2 separate regions of the Homo sapiens genome follow, and region 1 is linked to region 2. Evidence: promoter capture Hi-C in 16 types of primary human blood cells and fetal thymus (Javierre and others, 2016). All regions are on one chromosome and are shown on one strand. Each heading gives the region's core, a stretch centred on a gene start or on the middle of the fragment in contact. The rest is flanking DNA. Distances are from core to core; before and after follow the strand shown. Region 1 has its middle 26 kb from the start of SUSD2. Region 2 holds the start of ADORA2A-AS1 (ADORA2A antisense RNA 1).

What was found. Contacts are between HindIII fragments. The CHiCAGO score rates a contact against its expected background, and 5 or more counts as called.
Region 1: a contact is called between a fragment that was not itself captured here and the fragment with the promoter of ADORA2A-AS1 in region 2, in 1 of 17 cell types (monocytes). The highest score is 7.8, in monocytes.

The regions. Positions count from the first base shown.
Region 1 is chr22:24,204,826-24,209,778 of GRCh38, reverse strand. No RefSeq gene overlaps it. Among named protein-coding and RNA genes, the nearest start is that of SUSD2, 26 kb to the right of the region's middle. RefSeq lists an enhancer at 3,521-4,489. The HindIII fragment of the contact is 787 bases long and covers 2,879-3,665 here.
Region 2 is chr22:24,492,128-24,496,785 of GRCh38, reverse strand. It overlaps ADORA2A-AS1 (ADORA2A antisense RNA 1), which reads left to right and starts at 1,712. Exons shown (of 7, transcript NR_028484.3): 1 at 1,712-2,096. UPB1 (beta-ureidopropionase 1) reads right to left here and starts at 1,454. Exons shown (of 10, transcript NM_016327.3): 1 at 1,279-1,454. The coding sequence starts at 1,382. The HindIII fragment of the contact is 15,084 bases long and covers 771-4,658 here.

The sequences.
Region 1 (4,953 bases), core at 2,023-4,522, 290 kb after region 2:
GTACATATATTTTCCCCAAGATACAAGTCCTGGGTCTGGGGATTTGCCGTGTGCACGATTACTTGTCTTGTGGCTGCCCAAGACCATGCTTCTGTCTGTAAGTTTCCCGTAATGAATTGTGCCACACCAACAAACTTGATTTGTCGGCCTCCTTCTTTGGTTTCTTGGCTCCTTCAGCATGTGGGGGTCTCTTTGCACATATGGTCCTTTCACAGAACTTCCCTTAACCCGAATATATATCTTAATACAACAGAAACGGCATGAGTTGGGCTGGGTGCTATTCTATTCCTTTACATGCGTTAATTTATGTAATTCTCTCCAGAAGGGGAGCTGTGATTATACCAGTTTTATAGATGGGGAGACTAAAGTACTAACGTTCCAAATGTAAAAATTAGCTGGGCATGGTGGTGGGCGCCTGTAATCCCAGCTGCTTGGGAGGCTGAGGTGGGAGAATCACTTGAACCTGGGAGGTGGAGGTTGCAGTGAGTCGAGGTTGTGCCACTGCACTCCAGAGCAAGATTCTGTCTCAAAACAAACAAACAAACCAAAATGAAACCATATGAATATCACAAGAACACATGGGCAAATTTTGTTTATGTTCTTAGAGTGGGGCAGGCCTTTTTAGGCATGTCATAAAACCAAAAAGCCATAAAAGAAAAAAGCTAATAAATATGAACATGTAAAAATTAAAAATTTAAATTTAGTTTAATTTTTATTTTTATTTAAATATTAAAAGTTTTTTTGAGATGGAGTCTCACTCTGTTGCTCAGGCTGGAGTGCAGTGGCACAATCTCAGCTCACTGGAATCTCCGCCTCCCGGGTTCAAGCGATTCTCCTGCCTCAGCCTCCCAAGTAGTTGGGATTACAGGCGTCCACCACCACATCCGGCTAATTTTTGTATTTTTAGTAGAGGCAGGGTTTCACCATCTTGGTCAGGCTGGTCTCGAACTCCTGACCTCAGGTGATCCACCTGCCTCAGCCCCACAAAGTGTTGGGATTACAGGTGTGAGCCACCGCCCCCAGCCAAAAATTTTTGATTTAAAAATAATTTTAAAAATAGAGATGGGGTTTTGCCATGTTGCTCAGGCTGGTCTCAAACTCCTGGATTGAAGCAATCCACCCACCTAAGCCTTTCAAAGTGCTGGGATCTCAGGTGTGAGCCACTGTGCCCAGCCTTCACTGGTCTTTTCAGAATTTTTTTTTTTTTACATAAAGCTGAACACAATGGTTCCCACCTGTGATCTCAGCACTTTGGGTGCCTCAGGTAGGTGGATCACTTGAGCCCAGGAGTTTGAGACCAGCCTGAGCAACACAGTAAGATCTCATCTCTATTATCAACAACAACAACAACAACAACAAAAGACCAGTGAAAAACCTGGAGAAAAACAGTTTCAATACATGATGTGGGGCTGGTTTTTGAAATATTTAAATACTTAAATATTTAATATTAGAGACCAAGTATCCAGTAGAAATATGAACAGGGATGTGACTCATTGTTTGCAGAAAGAAAACTACAAATGGCTGTTTCAACAGACAAAAAGTTCTCAAGCCTACTCATAAATAAACATTGCCAATTCAAACAACAGTGAGATCCCACAGGGCCAGAGGAAGTGACTCCGAGCCCAGAACTTCCTCAGTGAATTCTTTGAAACCCTGATGAAAGAAAAAATACCAGTCTTACACAAACTTCCAGAGAACAGAAAAGAGGAAAGGTTGCTCAACGTCTTTGAAGAAGCTAGCATAACCTTGAAAGCAAAACCTGGCCAAAAAAATGTCAAGAAGGAAAAGTCTAGGGCTATTTGATTCATGAACAGAGATGCATAGCCCTTAAAACATGAAGAAACCAGGGCTTGAAAGGAAAAAATATGCGTCACCACCAATTTAGGTTTGTTCCAGGAATGCAAGATTGGCTGAACATTAGAAAATGAAGCCTCACACCTGTAATTCCAGCACTTTAGGAGGCTGAAGCCTATGGATCGCTTGAGCCCAGAAGTTCGAGACCAGCCGAGCCAACATGGTAAAACCCTGTCTCTATCAGAAAATGCAAAAATTAGCTGGGCATGGTGGCATGCGCCTGTAGTCCCAGCTACTCGGGAGGCTGAGGTTGGGGGATCACTTGAGCCTGGGAGGTGGAAAGCTATAGTGAGCCATGATCACACCACTGCCCCCGAGCCTGGATGACAGGGCCTGACCCTGTCACAAAACAAAAAGAAAAGAAAAAAGAAAATCAAGCAACACAATTCACCACACTCACAGAATAAAGAAGAAAAGTCACTCACCATCTCAGTAGATGCAGAAAAGCATTTGATAAAATTTGCCAACATTCAGTTACAATAAAAACTCTCAGCAACTAGGAATGAAAGGAAACTTCCTTAATCTGATAAATCGTGGCTACAAAAACCTACAGTAAATGTCATGCTTAAAGGTACAACATAAAAAGCCTCCCTTTTGAGATTGAAACCAAGCTAAGAATTATTTCATTATTTCCTTCCAGTATTACAGGGGAAGTTTTAGCCAATGTAATAAGGTGAGAAAAACAAAAGCCATAAAGGTTGGAAAGGAGGACATAAGACTGTCATTGACAGAGCAGGAGCATTGCCATCTTGGACAAGCACCATCATTTTAAAGTTCACCTTGATCAAAAACTGCCTAAATCCAAAGGGCATCAGCCTAATGGCTAAGGTCAGCATGACCATAAACCACAAATAACATCTCCAACCAGAAACATTCTAAAGCCCTCCCTGACCAGAGACATGCCAGCCCCGAGATAACCTCCCCTCCGGCCAGAGAGACATTAGCCCCAAGATAACCTCCCCTGGGACCAGAGACATTCCAACCCCCCCATAAACTTCTCCCCCACACAGAAACATTCCAAGCTTGTGATAAGCCCTCTAACCCTAAAAAACCAATAAATACTATTAGTATTAAAGACCAAGTATCCAGTAGAAATATGCACAGGGATGTGATTCACTGTTCACAGAAAGAAAACTACAAATGACTGTTTGTAAGAGAGAGTGCCCCTGACTGAAATCAGCCAGAAGCCCCTCTGGAGAATAAACCTGTCTTTGACTGTTGAGCCACTTTTCATGTTTCCTTCCTCTTTCTTTAACTCTTACAGTCATTATCTGTAGATACTCAAGAAACGGTTAGAAATAGGTGAATTGGGCCGGGCGCGGTGGCTCAGGCCTGTAATCCCAGCACTTTGGGAGGCCGAGACGGGTGGATCACAAGGTCAGGAGATCGAGACGATCCTGGCTAACACGGTGAAACTCCGTCTCTACTAAAAATACAAAAAATTAGCCGGGTGCGGTGGCAGGCGCCTGTAGTCCCAGCTACTCAGGAGGCTGAGGCAGGAGAATGGTGTTAACCCAGGAGGCGGAGCTTGCAGTGAGCCGAGATCGCGCCACTGCACTCCAGCCTGGGAGACACAGCCAGACTCCGTCTCAAAAAAAATAAAAAAATAAATAAATAAATAAAAATAAAATAAAATAAAGAAATAGGTGAATTGAGCAAGGTCATTGTAATACAGAAGTTATTAAAAATAATTTTTAGACAAATAATAAAGGTAAAGGTTCTCGGTAAAAATTTTCCTGTAATAAAAAACAACCCCCAAACCATCTCTTTTCTAACAAAAAAGGCAGCTCGAAGGGCGGGGCCAGCAAGCTTTAATATGCAAATGTCGGCCTTTAAAAACTGGGTTCACCCAATATGGCAATTCCCACCATCATCTCCTTGTCACCAGGTATCCCAAGTGTCATGGCCACCTCCAGATAACATCATGTGTTCAAAACATTGCAATCTGCATTTGCATATTAAAGGACTAAAGTAAAAGGGCCAGGTTTTTCACTGGCTGGGTAAATAACACACCTGGTCAAACCAATCCCCTGGGCCTTATGCAGATCAAACACCAACTCCTCCAGCATCCCAATAAAAGCAACCACTTTTCTGACTCACATGGGGTTTCTCTTTATTCAAATCCCCCTGCTCTGTCTCTGTAAGGGGAAGCTGTTTTCTTCTTCCTTCTTTCTTGCCTATTAAACATTTTGCTCCTTAAAACCACTCCACCAGCCTGACCAACATAGTGAAACCCCGTCTGTACTAAAAATACACATATTAGCCAGGTGTGGCAGCACATGTCTGTAATCCCAGCTACTCAGGAGGCTGAGCCAAGAGAACTGCTTGAAACTGGGAGGCGGAGGTTGCAGTGAGCTGAGATGGTGCCATCGCACTCCAGCCTGGGCAACAAGAGTGAAACTCCGTCTCAAAAAAATAAAAAGCTAAAAACAAACAAAAAACCATTCCACATGTGTCGGTGTCATTAATCCTATCAGTACAAAACCAAAACCCTGGTGTTCCTCCAGTCATCAAAGCCGCATCAATTGGAATCAAGGAATATATGCAAAAATCAATGTTATTTCTACGTACCAGCCATAAACAAAAAAACCTTTTTTGAAGTAAAATCGCTTGTAGTAGTGTGAATCAAAAAGCATCTGAAACAGGTCTCAATCAACTTAAGAGTTTATTTTGCCAAGGTTAAGGACAATGCCCAGGAGGGGAAAAAAAATGGAATCACAGAAGCAGCCTATGGTCTGTGCCTTTCCCCAAAGGTGACTTTGAGGGCTTCAAAATTTAAAAAAGAAGAGTGAGGTGAGAAGATTGCTTGAGCCCAGGAGTTCAAGACCAGCCTGAGGAACATCGTGAAACCCCATCTCTACAAAAAAATACAAAAATTGGCCAGATATGGTGGTGCATGCCTGCAGTCCCTGCTACTCAGCAGGCTGAAGCACAAGGATCGATTGAGCCCAGGAGGTCCAGGCTACTGTGAGCCATGATTGCCCCACTGTACTCCACCCTGGGTGACAGAGCAAGACCCAGTGTCTCTCTCTCTCTCTCCCTCTCTCTCTCTCCTTCTTTCTCTCTCTCTCTCTATATATATAGCTCAATTCACCTATT
Region 2 (4,658 bases), core at 463-2,962:
AGAATCTCCCACAAAGTCTCTTTCTCTGACCCCTTGAATATCCAGGTTTTCCAGCATTCTCTCCAGCGCCCTCTTTTGTACCTGCTCCTCCTTCACCTGGAATGACCATCTCCAGGGCAGCTCAACAAGCCCAGCCTCGCCCACCTGAGGCCCACCTCCACATAGCAAATAGCCCCTGAGTTATTTCCACCTGCAGACCCTGAAGCTACTGTAGCAGGTTGAGCTGTGTCTCCATCCTGACACCTGGAACCTGTCATTGTGATTTTATTTGGAAAAAGGGTCTTCACAGACGTAATTAAGGTCAGGATCTCAAGATAAGATCATCCGGGATTATCCAAGTAAGCTCCAAATCCAAAGACGTGTGTGTGTGTGTGTGTGTGTATGTGTGTGTGTGTGTGTGTGTGTGTGTGTGTTTGAGACAGGGCCTCACTCTGACTCCCAGGCTGGAGTGCAGAGGAGAGATTTTGGCTCACTGCAGCCTCGACCTCCCAAGCTCAAGTGATCCTCCCGCCTCAGCCTGCCATGTAGCTAGGACTACAGATGCATGCTACCATGCTTGGCTATTTTTTTAAATGCTTTATAGAGATGGGTGTCTCACTATGTTGCCCAGGCCGGTCTCGAACTCCTGAGTTCAAGCAATCTTCCAGCCCTGGCCTCCCAAAGTGCTGAGATTACAGGTGTGAGCCCGGCCAGGAAGTGTCTTTTTCAGCTTTGTGGACACAGTGTCCAGCAGTATACAGCCCTCAGAAAGTCCTGGTGATGCACAAGCTTGCAGGGAGTGGAAAAACCAGCGCCCATGGCTTGCCAGTGGGAAAGGTTCCCTCGCCAACTAAATGCAGACAGCCTCTATTTCCAAGGGTCAGCCAGAGGTCGGGTCACCGCAAGAAGGATGGTCTGGGGCCGGACAATCAGTACACCTGCTGGGTGCTCTGGTTGGAGACAGTGATCCAGCCAGACATCCAGAAGACAAGCCCGGCTCCGGGGAGGAGGGTTGGGATGGCCACAGAGAAAGCCCTGGAGAGTAAAATCCCGTCCTTTTCCTTCCGGTTCTGGGCAACGTGGGGGAGAAGAGATTTGTAAAGGTCACGCCAGGATTCTGCAACCCCCAAGGACCCCGGGGCCGTCCCATCAAGACCTACTATGGTCTCTGCCCGCCAACTCAGGACTTCTCACCGCCTCCCCTGAGCCCTTCAGACCCTGAGGCCCTCCCTGCCTGCTCCCCCAGACCCACACTCTGTGGCCCCAAGACCCCATTAGCTTAGCCTCTTGGCTGCGGACCTGAGTTCCTTGCCATAGAGAACGCGCTTCACTTCCTGCAAGTCGGGGAGCGGCAGGTGCTTCTCCAAGCATTCCTCCAGCGACTTCCACTCAGCGCCCGCCATGGCCACGGTCCGCCAGTGCTTGTGTCCGCGCACGAACTGCCTGCCCTTTGCCCGCAGTGGGAGGAGGTGCCCAGGCCCGGTCAGGCGCCCTTGCCTTTATCTCTTACTCTCGCTCCCAGACAGCTCAAGTGAGGACACGCCACTTCCTCGCGCAGCCAATCCGCCTTCCAGGGCTTCGCGGGTGGGACCGCCCCTGGCCTTTAGCGCTCCTTCGGCACGTGCCAGGACACGTTCCTCTTGCCGCCTCCGCAGCACACGGCCAATCAGCCTCCAGGGCCTCACGTGGGGAGGGGGCGAAAGGATCCGGCGCTTGCCCTTCGCCCCTTGCCCTTCGCCTCTCGGTTAGCAAGCGATGAGGCACGCCCCTCCACAGGCGGGACTGCGCGGAGTCGTCGCGCCTCGGCTGCGAGTCAGGACTGAGGCTGTCCCCCTCCCGCCTCCCTCAGGGGCCCTGGCGCGGGTGCCTCCAGGTTCCACCCCTCACCTGCCCCTTGGTGTCGGGCCGGGACCCTGGAGAGGTCGTGAGGGAGTCCTGGGCGCGGGCTCCGGGAGGCTGCGGCGCGGGTCTGAGGTAAACGGCCCGGCCGCTGCGGGCCCTTGCGGGGGCTGGTTCCAGCAGCAACCGCCGGGCAGGGCCCCTCCCGACCGCGACCTCCTGTCCGCACCGTAGGGCAGCCGGCCGGGCCAGCCTCCCTCACAGGACTACCGAGGAAGGTAAGGGAAGAGTTTCAGTGTCCCACGGGCACGCGGCGGCTGCACCTCTGTCGTCCGGAGCCTTTATGTCTGGGGAGTTTTAACCCCCGAGGGGCCAGGCTCGGAGTCCATGCCGCTACCTGGGTCGCGCGTTCCCACCCCCGGCTTTGGGGCCGCTGGAGCCGAAGGTCAGTTGCTCGCCTGCGGTTCCGTGCGCCTCGGTGGAGCTAATATTGTAAAATGCGGGGTCCCCGGGTGAGGGCGCGCCCCCTGCACCCTAGGGCCCCTTTTCAGCCCTGCCCTCTGCCGCGTGTGTGCAAATATGGGCACTTTCCTGCGGTAGGGTGCGCTTTAAACTGTCACTGAGATGGTAGGAGTGAGAGCCCCATTTGCTGTTACCGCGAATCCAGAGGGTGCCATCCCTTCAGGAGCAAAGAAGCGTCCTCTTTGGGGTCCTATTGAGAATTAGGGCAGTAAGGCCCGCTTACTTCGGCGGGCAGCCGGGTGAAGGAACCAGTCTGTAGAAATCCTATTCAGCCACTTGTAAACCTTGTGACCCCAGGAAAGTTTAACTTAGTCGCTGGAGGCTTCTGTTGCTTTATCTGTAAAATAGGAATGCAAAGATTACGCTGCGGGGTTGTTTAAAAGTCAGAAAAGGCCAGCACGGTGGCTCATGCCTGTAAACCCAGCACTTTGGGAGGCCTAGAAAGGGGTATTGTTTGAGGCCAGGAACTCCAGACCAGCCTGGGTAACACAGCAAGACCCTGTATCTACAAAATAATGTTTTACAAATTAGCCTATCATGGTGGTGCGCACCTGCTTCTTGGGAGGCAGAGGTGAGAGGATCGCTTGAGCCCAGGAGTTCGAGGCTCCCTAGCTATGATCTTAACACTGCACTTCAGCCTGGGCAACAGAGTGAGACGCAATCTCAAAGAAAAAAAAAAAAGAGGCAAGTAAAATGAGCACAAAGGGAGCTAATTTATATCTAGAATCAGCTACTAACATTAAAAATATTATACTTCAGGTATTTTGTTTCAGCTGCTAATTCACAAGTTTTGTTCCTTGTTTTGATAAATGTTAGCTGACGGTTTCTAGTATCTGATGGAGCTGCCTTCTCAAGAGTGCAAACTCTGAGGACTTTCTATGTGTAAGGCACTGCTAAGAGAGCCATATAAAGACAGATAAGACCTAGTACCTTTTCTTTGTGATTTAAAGTAAAGACGGCTGGGCACGTTGGCTCACACCTGTAATCCCAGCACTTTGGGAGGCCGAGGCGGGCAGATCACCTGTGGTCAGGAGTTCGAGACCAGCCTGACCAACATGGTGAAACCCCGTCTCTACTAAAAATACAAAAATTTGCCGGGCATGGTGGCGCATGCCTGTAATCCCAGCTACTCGGGAGGCTGAGGCAGGAGAATCGCTTGAACCCAGGAGGGGAGGCGGAGGTTGCAGCGAGCTGAGATCGTGCCATTGTACTCCAGCCTGGGCAACAAGAGCAAAACTCCGTCTCAAAAAAAAAAAAAAAAAAAAAAAAAGGAAAGACAAACTTGTAAATACAGCAGATTTAAATAATTTGAGATGAAAAAGATACTATGGAGTGCAAAGAGGTGATTTCTGGCTTAGAGAAATTGTTGGAGGTCTCATGGAAGAGGCTTCAAAGCCAACTCAAAATGCTTCAAACTGAATGAACTTTCACCTCCTTTCTCAAGCAGGCTCTTATCTTCTTTTGTTGTTGTTGTTGTTGTTGTTACAGAGTTTCGCTTTTGTCGCCCAGGCTGCAGTGCAATGGTGCGATTTTGGCTCACTGCAACCTCCGCCTCCCAGGTTCAAGCGATTCTCCTGCCTCAGCCTCCCGAGTAGCTGGGATTACAGGCGTGTGTCATCACACCCAGCCAATTTTTTGTATTTTTAGTAGAGATGGGGTTTCACCATGTTGGTCAGTCTGGTCTTGAACTCCTGACCTCAGGTGATCCGCCTGCCTCAGCCTCCTGAAGTGCTGGGATTACAGGCATGAGCCACCGCGCCCAGCCTCTTATCTTCTGCACTGTATTCCCTATTTCAGTAATGGCCTCACCACCCACTGATTTGCCAAGTTTTTGAGAGTCATCTGCAACTCCTCCATGTTCTTTCTTTCCTCAATACAATCAGGCATCAAGTTCTGCTAAATTTATCTCCTGGATTTTGTTCATATCCTTCCTCCTCCCTCCTCATGTCTGCCTCCTGTCATCTTTTGCTTGAATTGTTGCCAGTCTTGTAACTTGTCTCTCCACCTCCAATGTCTATCCTTAGTTGTCTTTCTAAAACTAGTATCTTACCATCCTTTGTACCCTCTCATTCAGTGTATCCCTACCTGGAATCACCTTTCATCCTTCATTTTGTGACCGCCTTCTCATCCTCCACCATGCAGTTGAAACATCACTTCTGTAAAGACTTCTCCAATTGTCCCAGAAAAAGTTAGGCTCCCCCAGGCCTTCATAGATAGTTCTCTTGTTACATTTATTAAACAGTATTGTGTAGTTATTTCTGTGCTGTCCTCAGAAAATGGACCGGATCTACTTTTGTATCCAGAGGACTTTAGCACTC